3 separate regions of the Homo sapiens genome follow, and all the other regions are linked to region 1. Evidence: promoter capture Hi-C in human tissues and cell types (Jung and others, 2019). All regions are on one chromosome and are shown on one strand. The core of a region is centred on a gene start or on the middle of the fragment in contact, and the rest is flanking DNA. Distances in the headings are between cores, read along the strand shown.

Region 1 (3,057 bases), core at 428-2,927:
GATTCATTTCAACAGAAAAATAATACGCAGAGGTAACAAATCCAAGCTCTTACAATCTCAGACATGAATTATTACTATCTTTATTACCATTCCCCAACTAGGAAACCTGGGCAAATTAACTTCTCTAAATTTCAGTTCCCTCATCTGTAAAAGGGGGAAAATAACACCATCTATCACATAGAAATAAATGTGAGGACTAAATGAGAAAAGGTATATGTTACCATTTTTAGAAACCTTAACTCTATTCATAAAACACCCATTCATTATGCCGTTCCCCATACCAACATTCTATGGGATAACATCAAAACGTTAGCCTTGGCCAGGTGCCATGGCTCACGCCTGAAATCCCAGCACTTTGGGAGGCCAAGTGAGACTGCTTGAGTCCAGGAGTTCCAGACCAGCCTGGGCAACATAGAAAGACCCTGTCTCTAAACAAAAAACAAAAACAAAAACAAAAAAACTTTAGCATTTAAAGGACACAAAGGGGACTTCTGGGGTGCTGATACTGTTTCTTGAACTAGGTGCTGGCTACATGAGTGAATACAGTTTTTAAAAATTCATTGAACTCTACACTTACTTAATATGCATTGTATGTATACTGTACTTCAGTAAAAAAAAAAAAAAAAAAGTTGTTTGTTTTTTTTTAATCATCAAACTCTGGCCTAAACCTAGCTTCCACCCCATTACTCCCCTGCTTTGGACATTTCACATCCTTGAACGTTTCTTCATCCTATTTACTTTCTGCTACCTGGAACTCTCCTTTTCTCTAATCTCCCTTTCAAAACCCTACATCCTTCAAGAGTCAGCTCAAATCCCACATTCTGGAAAACTGGAAAGGTAGGGGATAGTTTATTCAGGGTCAGAATACTAAGGAAGGAACTGGGTGGACACATAAAGTATACTTTTCATGAATTATTATAACGATTTGTCTCCCTCACTAGCCTGTGCAGCTACTTCAGGCCAACTTCGCTTTCTCGCTGTAGGCGTTAGTATAAAACAATGTTCGGTGAAGAACTTAGTAAGGAACAGTAACAAAAATTGCCCTGCAAGTCCCAGACTGAGAAGAGACGTCTAAAGCACACGCACACTCTCCTCGCTTAAGCAAAATTGGTCCCCTCATCCCGGACCCCCTCACACATAACCTTTTATCCCAGGGAGCACCCCTGGCGATCCCGCCCCAAATCCCAAACTCCTCTGCAAGCCGCGCTCCACAAGCACCTCCTCCTCTTATTCCAACCCTTCCCACAGACCACACTCCTCGGCTCAGGACACTGAATGGGACACGCCCCCTCAGATCCCCACCACTAGGTGGTCCGGCCCCCAGGGCCCAAACCTCACGACACTGTCCCCACGCCCCGGTCCCCACGCCCCCTCCCCTCACCAGCCCCGCCCTCAGGCCCCGCCCTCTCCAAGAACCCCACGAGACAGTCAGTTAGTTCTCTAGGAACCGCGCGCTGGCGGTCACTGCCCCCGCCTCCCATTCACAGAGGCCGCGGGAGGGCAGGTGGGGCCTGACAGTCTGCTCGAGCCAGTGGCCTCACCTCTCTTCCAAGAGCTCAGTGGGGACACCACCTCCACCCGCTCGGAAATGAACTCGGCCAGACTGGAGCGGAACAAGGCCGCCCGCACTGTCACAGCCACCACCAGCACCAGGACCAAGGGAGCCGCCATGATAACTGGGGCGGGCGCGCGGGCGGGGAGGGAAGGCGAGGCGGAGGAGCCTCGCGCGCTGTGCGCCACGCTCTGTAGTTCCGCGGGTGGGCGCGCGCTGCCGCTGGCGCCGGAGAGGCCAGACGTGGGGACTACGGCTCCCAGAAAGCCTTGCGGCGAGGCGGGCCGGAGCGACGGAAAGCGGGCGCCTCAAGCTGCGTATGCAGAAGGTGGGGCGAAACCTTCTACGATCGCAGGTGTTTTGTGAAGCCGCGCCGCTATAGCGGGGCTGAAACGCTGCTGAAAGTAGAAGCGGAAGTAGTCGCCTTCCTGGGATTGTGAGAGACTTTTAAACAGATGTTAAATTCACTCTTGCGTGTATGTTTTCAATGCCAAAATGTTTATTTTTATTTTTATTTTTATTTTTTTTGAGACGGAGTCTCGCTCTGTCGTCCGGCTGGAGTGCAGTGGCGCGATCTTGGCTCACTGCAACTTCCGCCTCCTGGGTAGCTGGGATGACAGGCGCCCACCACCACGCGCGGCTATTTTTTTTTTTTTTTTTTTTTTGTATTTTTAGTAGAGATGGGGTTTCACCATGTTGGCCAGGTTGGTCTCGAACTCCTGACCTCAGGTGATCCGCCCGCCTCGGCTTCCCAAAATGCTGGGATTACAGGCGTGAGCCACCGCACCCTGCCCAAAATGTTTATGTTTTTTGTTTTTGAGACAGGGTCTCAGTGCCGTCGCCCAGGCTGGAGTGCAGTGGCGCAATCTCAGCTCACTGCAGCCTGGACCTCCCGGGCTCCAGAGTAGCTGGGACCACAGGTGCGCGCCACCACACCCGGCTAAGTTTTTGTACTTTTAGTAGAGACGGGGTTTCGCCATGTTGCCCAGGCTGGTACCTTTTATGTTTTTAAAGAGTGTTAAATGTGTATTTTTTAAAAAATTTATTCTGGCAGTTGTTTGTTAAACGCCAACTATTTTCCAGGCACTATGTTAGGTTCTACAGATGCGTTTTGGAGTAGTAGACTGATTTATTAGCTAGTTCAACAAGTCGCTTAACCCTTGTGTGCTGAAAAATGTGCTGATTATAGGCTAACTAGGGACAGTTGAGGAAGGCTTAGAAATTTTTTTTTTGTTTTGGAAACGGAGTTTCGCTCTTATTGCCCGGGTTGGAGTGCAATGGCGCGATCTCAGCTCACTGCAACCTCCGACTCCCAGGTTCAAGCGATTCTCCTGCCTCAGCCTCCCGAGTAGCTGGGATTACATGCATGCGCCATCACGCCCGGCTAATTTTTTGTAATTTTAGTAGAGACAGGGTTTCTCTATGTTGGTCAGGCTGGTCTCGAACTCCAGACTTCAGGCGATCCACCTGCCTGCCTCGGCCTCCCAAAGTGCTGGGATTACAGG
Region 2 (3,100 bases), core at 1-2,500, 590 kb after region 1:
GGTATTGGGCGTGGTGGCTCACGCCTGTAATCCCAGCACTTTGGGAGGCCAAGGTGGGTGGATCACTTGAGGTCAGGAGTTCAAGACCAGCCTGGTCAACATGGTGAAACCCCATCTCTGCTAAAAAAAAAAAAAAAAAAAAAAAAAAATCACCTGGGTGTGGTGGTACGTGCCTGTAGTCCCAGCTACTTGGGAGGATGAGGCAGGAGAATCACTTGAACCTGGGAGGCAGAGGTTGCAGTGAGCTTAGATCACGCCACTGCACTCCAGCATGGGGGACGGAGCGAGACTCCTTCTCAAAAAAAAAAAAAAAAAAAAAAAAGTTGGAGAGCTGGCCTGGTGCTTCCTGAACATCCAGTTTGAAAAGCTCCCAAAGGTGATCCTAATATGCAGCCCAAGTGAAGAAGCACTGACCTAAGGATGAAAATGTAGAGACGGAAGAGAAGAGGACCCAAGGGCACGCCAGCCTCTAGAGTAGGGCAGATGAGGACACGCAGCCAGCAAAGGAGACTGAGAAAGAACAGCCCATGAGGCAGGAGGACAACCAAGAGAGTGTTTCCAGGAAAGTGTTTCTATGAATCTTGCTGCTCAAAATGTAGTCTTCAGACCAGCAGCATCAGCATCACCTGAGAGTGTGAAGGAATGCAAACTCTCAGGCCCCACCCCAGGCCCTCTGAGCCCTCATCTGCATTTTAGCAACATCCCCAGATGATGCATGTGCTTATTAAAGTCTGAGTCAAGTAACCATTGGATGATCTTGGCAGAGCAGTTGGAGTGGGTGACGGGTAGAAGCTGCACTGGGGTGGGAAAGAGAATAAATGAAGGGGGTGAGGAAGTGGGGCCAGTGCGTGTGAAGGGGGCAAAGAGGGTATGGCCTAAGGAAGAGCGCTGACCCTAAGGAAGGACATGATTGCTCTGTAACAGGAGAGAGAAAAGAGAAGATACCAGATTCGGGGATGGAAAGATGAGAGTCCCATTCTAATGGCTATTTTCATCCATTTTCTCAAAGACTGGGGGAGTTAAACTGGGGAGAGGGAACAGGAGGCTGAACTGGGACAGACTTGTCTCAGAGCTGCCTGGGTGATGCTGAGACTGGCAATGGGAGGCGGGAAACGGCTGCCCCCTCTCTAAGATGCAGCTCCTCTCTCCAGGACCCCCAGCCGAGCCTCTGGAGCCCACAAGGCCACTCCCTACACTCCCCGTCCGCAGGATCCACTCACCATCGGAGAGGAAACACGAGCGCCAGCCCAGGCCCCCTCGGCCGCCCCTCGGGGACCGGCCATCCACACCAGGCACCAAACCCAACATCTGTGACGGCAACTTCAACACAGTGGCCCTCTTCCGGGGCGAGATGTTTGTCTTTAAGGTAGGGCCAATGGATTGGCACCACCCAGCTGGCCCCTGACCTTTCCTCCTCCTCCCCGACATCATGGAGCTGGGGAAGGCTCCTGATTTGGGATTCGATTACAATGGGGCCTGGACAGGAGCTAGCCCAGTGGCCAGGGCATGGGGTCTCTTCCTAGTGCTGCTGGGTGAATCAACTGTTCCCAAGAGGGAGGGGGAAAGATGGGTGATCCCTCACCTCCCCTGGGGTTAATGCTGGGAGAAAGTGCTGGAAGCTGGCTTCTGGTCTGTGACCACCCTTCTTGGGACCTCAGTTTCTCCATCCGAAACCTGGGGGAGTCATTCCTCTAACAAAGAGTGTGTGAAGATCCAGTGAGTACCCGGCTCTGAAGATGGTCAACTTGGAGTAGGGGCTAGGTCAGTGGTGGCTGAGTCTGACTCCAGACCCTACCAAGGCTTGAGGGGCTGCTACTGGCAGCAGCCCAGGGTATATCTTGTCATCTGTCCTCCATCAGCCATGGACTGACAGGGTGGCAGTCTGCTTGACGTGTTGCAGGTTGGGCTCTCGGGGAGTGAACTCTGAGGTGGGGTCTGGAATGCAGGATTTCGATTAGAGAGTACTTTCAGAATCAACATTTGTGAGGGGGAGAAGGAAGCAGGACAGGGAAGAGGGAGAGGTTAAGTGGCAACAGAGGCCCATGGCAGCCTCAGCCACCCCCGCAGGGAGCTCTGGGGCTACGGTGGCCTGTCACTCAGCCTACGTTGGGTCCAAAATATCTGGAACATTATAACCCCTACCTCATTCAATCACTGGATGAGGAAGGGCATCCAGTGACTGAGGAGAGCTCTCTGAAGCAGGGAACATCCCCAAAGGGGCTGACAGTTGAAAACTGCCTGCTGGCCACACTGCTGGCCACTGGGGCAACAAGCCCTTCTCTGAAGGGGATCTGGGCAGGGTGGCTCCATCACACAGGATGGTGAAAGAGGCTGCCTCGCTCCCCTTGTGGAGTTCTCCCAGCACGCACTGAGCACTGCGCAGGAATCGGGCAGCGTGAGTCAGCCCCAGTCTGGCTTCTCACTGAGTGGCTCTAGGCAAGTCACCTGGCCTTTCTTAAGACTCCGTATATCTCAGATCAACTTAACAGAGACATGAAAGTCAAAATAAGGTCAAAAACCTGGATGTGAAAGTGCTTTGTAAAACACCTTTTAAAATACTAGCTTTTGTACCATCTTTTACAAATCATGCTTCTTCTTCTGCACTCATTCTACTTTGATCCAACTGAACCGTTCATAGGCAGGTCCGGGTTTTATCATCCCCATTTACACATAAGAAAACTGAGGCCTGGAGGCTGGGCGCAGTGGCTCACGCCTTGCAATCCCAACACTTTGGGAGGCCAAGGAGGGCGGATCATAAGGTCAGGAGATCAAGACCATCCTGGCTAACATGGTGAAACCCCATCTCTACTAAAAATATAAAAAATTAGCCGGGTGTGGTGGCGGGCGCCTGTAGTCCCAGCTACTCAGGAGGCTGAGGCAGGAGAATAGCATGAACCTGGGAGGCGGAGCTTGCAGTGAGCCGAGATTGCGCCACTGCACTCCAGCCTGGGTGACAGAGCGAGACTCCATCTAAAAAAAAAAAAAAAGAAAGAAAACTGAGGCCTGGAGGCTACAGGCCTTGCCTAGACTGCTTGTGTACCAGCCCAAGACTGAGGCACCAGTTACAAGAGGCGTTTTTACTGGACTCGGACTATTTAGC
Region 3 (3,193 bases), core at 76-2,575, 770 kb after region 1:
TTATAAAGTTAAAAGAGAAAGTTCCCCTCTCCCCTCACACCCCAATCTCTCTAATCACAGGAAACCTCTCTAATCACTGGAAACCTTGTTGTCATTCTTGAGCTCAGAAATCTCAGATCCTTGCTGGACTCCTCCACTCCTCCTTCCCTCCATCTAATTCTAATTCCCACTTTGTGTATAAGAACCCTAGCTGGTAAGTACTGTTATCCCCATATTGCAGCTGAGGAATTTGAGGCTCAGAAAGGGAAAGAGGGTTGCTCAAGAACATAAGGCAAGCTGGACGCGGTGGTGCACATCTGTAGTCCTGGCTACGGGACTTTTTGTTTTTTTCAAAAAAAAAAAAAAAAATATATATATATATATAGTTAAGGGCCCCCCCGACTTTTTTTTTTTTTTTTTTTTTGTCTCACTCTGTCACCCAGGCTGGAGTGCAGTGGAGCAATCTTGGCTCACTGTAACCTCCTCCTCACAGGTTCAAGCGATTCTTGTGCCTCAGCCTTCCGAGCAGCTGGGATCACAGGTGCACGACACCAGGCCCGGCTAATTTGTGTATTTTTAGTAGAGACAGGGTTTCGCCATGTTGGCCAGGCTGGTCTCAAACTTCTGGCTTCAAGCGATCCACTTGCCTCCACCTCCCAAAGTGCTGGGATTACAGGCATGAGCCATCAGGCCTGACCAAGGGCCCATTTTTGAGGAAGGAGAGGACCTGGTCCTGTGGGAACTGTGACTGGACATCCTTTATTGCCCAAGCCCTGAGTGATAGTGAAAAGATGTCATCCACTTCAAGAATCTCAAGCTTGGGTACGCTGGTCACTTCGAGCCTGACTTAGTGAGTGAGAGGGGGCTAGGACTGGAATAAGAACTGCCTACTGAGGCGGGGTCAGGACCAGGGAGAAAATATCCAGCTGACAAAGGGAATCCAACTAGGGAGATTGACACAATTCAACCAGATGGTGGCATCAGCAAGAGGAGTGTCCGGCATTCCTAACACATCCCATGCTCTAGCATGCTGCTGTGCCTTTGCACATGCTGCTTGGAATCCCCGCCACCACCCCACCCCTGCCACTTTGCTTAGCATTTTTTTTTGAGATGGGGTCTTGCTATGCTGCCCAGGCTGGTCTCAAACTCCTAAGCTCAAGAGGTTCTTCTGACTCAGCCTCTTGAGTGGGTGGGACTACAGCCACATGCCACCATGCCTGGCTTGTCTGCTTAGCATTTTTTTTTTTTGAGACAGGGTCTTGCTGTGTTGCCCAGGTTGGAGTGCAGTGGCTTGAACACAGCTCACTGCAGCCTCAACCTCCTGGGCTCAAGCGATCCTTCCTACCTCAGCCTCCAGAATAGTTGGGACTACAGTAGTGCACCACCACACCTGGCTAATTTTAGCGTTTTTATCCTTCACAAACAAGTCATAGTGGCCTGATGCTGTGTAGCCAGCTGCTCCCTCTTTATAGAATTTACTACACTGTGTGTGTGTGAACTATTTCTTTACTTGCTTGCCTGCCATGTGAGTTTGTGAACAGAGGCTCTGGACAGAGTTCATTTATTATTGTTCTTTGGGTCCCTCCCAGTGCATAACTCAACTTTTGGCACACAGTAGGTGCTCAATCAATATTTTAAAAATAATGAATGAATGGAACTTCAGCGCGGCAGCTCAAGCCTATAATCCCAGCACTTTGGGAGGCTAAAGTAGGAACATTGCTTGATGCCAGGAATTCAAGACCAACCTGGACAACACAGTGAGTCCCCATCTCTACAAAAAAATTTTTAAACAAATTAGCCAGGACTGGTGGCACAGGCCTATAGTCTTAGCTACTCGGGAGGCTGAGCCAGGAGGATCGCTTGAGCCCAGGAGATTGAAGCTGCAGTGAGCTATGATCAAATCACTGCACTCCAACCTGAGTGAAAGAGCAAAACCCTGTCTCTTAAAAAAAAAAAAAGAGAGAGAGAGAGAATGGGCCGGGCGTCGCGGCTCACGCCTGTAATCCCAGCACTTTGGGAAGCCGAGGTGGGCGGATCACTTGAGGTCAGGAATTCAAGACCAGCCTCGCTAACATGGTGAAACCCCATCTCTACTGAAAAAAAAAAAAAAAGCTGGGTGTGGTGGTGGTGGGCGCCTGTAATCCCAGCTTCTCAGGAGGCTGAGGCACGAGGATCACTTGAACCCAGGAGGCGGAGGTTGCAATGAGCCAAGATCGTGCCACTGCACTCCAGCCTGGGCTACAAAGTGAGACTCTGTAAAAAAAAAAAAAAAGAATGGACTCAGAGGAACAGCAGCAAGAGACTATCGTTTTGGTGCTCCAGACTGTTACCTTGCAGTGAGAAAGAAAGAGGAAAGTGGTTGACTTTTTTTCCCTCTATTTTTCCCTCTCTGTCATCCTCAGCTCACTTTAGTCACTCAACATGTCTCCATGTTAACATGGAGAGGAAGATGGGGGTGGGAAAAGTCTTCTTTGAACCAGTGTAATAGCTGGCTTAGTGCTTTCTGGGCCTCGCAGATGTTTATAGCCATCTCTATCCATCATCAAAGCATCATGGGGTGCTTTTATACACTCTTCAGGGGTTCCCTACTGGCCCCTCTCCTGCAGTTCCCTTAGCAAAGGCATCTATTAATGGCCATTTGTCTAGCTTCTTGTTCCTGGGGTCCCTTTATACCTCCAGGAAGCCCTACTGAACAGGACCTAATAGTCAGCAGGCTTGTCTCTTCTTGCTAGAGTTCACAGGCAGGAAGCATATCCTGGTCACGATACTCCCTAAGTGCAATGGTATGGATTCTGCATCTCAGATTCTCATGGAAGCCCCCTCTCCTAGTCACTTGGTTTGAGCGGTTAAAAGTAATGTCCTCTTAATCTTCCCCAAGGAGGAATGGGGACTCATAGCCAGAAATATCTCCACACAAATTATCTATCCTCCACCTGCAGACCCCTTTATATTGGGATAAGGGATTTAGGAACTTTCAAACAGATTTTAGACTAACAGAAAAAAAAAAAAAAAAAAAAAAATATATATATATATATATATATATATATACACAAATATATATGTAGTGATTTAGCACCTCATTTTGAAATTTCACATACATATATATATATATTTTTTAATTCAGTTAGTCCAGACGGCCTCTTGGCATGGGCTAGGAGGAATATGTATAAATAATGAGCAAGGCTGGGTGTAGGAAAGATCCATATTATAGCCC

What was found. Contacts are between HindIII fragments. The study calls those that stand out against the background at their distance.
Region 2: a contact is called between a fragment that was not itself captured here and the fragment with the promoter of PIGU in region 1, in 1 of the 25 tissues and cell types used here (dorsolateral prefrontal cortex).
Region 3: a contact is called between a fragment that was not itself captured here and the fragment with the promoter of PIGU in region 1, in 1 of the 25 tissues and cell types used here (dorsolateral prefrontal cortex).

Annotation. Positions count from the first base shown.
Region 1 is chr20:34,675,415-34,678,471 of GRCh38, forward strand. PIGU (phosphatidylinositol glycan anchor biosynthesis class U) reads right to left here and starts at 1,678. Exons shown (of 12, transcript NM_080476.5): 1 at 1,542-1,678. The coding sequence starts at 1,671. RefSeq lists enhancers at 1,146-2,032, 2,033-2,918 and silencers at 1,298-1,397, 1,638-1,747. The HindIII fragment of the contact is 20,123 bases long and covers 1-3,057 here.
Region 2 is chr20:35,266,054-35,269,153 of GRCh38, forward strand. The region is part of intron 2 of MMP24-AS1-EDEM2 (MMP24-AS1-EDEM2 readthrough); the gene reads right to left. It overlaps MMP24 (matrix metallopeptidase 24), which reads left to right. Exons shown (of 9, transcript NM_006690.4): 6 at 1,152-1,366. Among named protein-coding and RNA genes, the nearest start is that of MMP24-AS1-EDEM2, 11 kb to the right of the region's middle. The HindIII fragment of the contact is 9,806 bases long and covers 1-3,100 here.
Region 3 is chr20:35,448,067-35,451,259 of GRCh38, forward strand. It overlaps a transcript of GDF5 not described here. Among named protein-coding and RNA genes, the nearest start is that of MIR1289-1, 4.4 kb to the right of the region's middle. The HindIII fragment of the contact is 8,774 bases long and covers 1-3,193 here.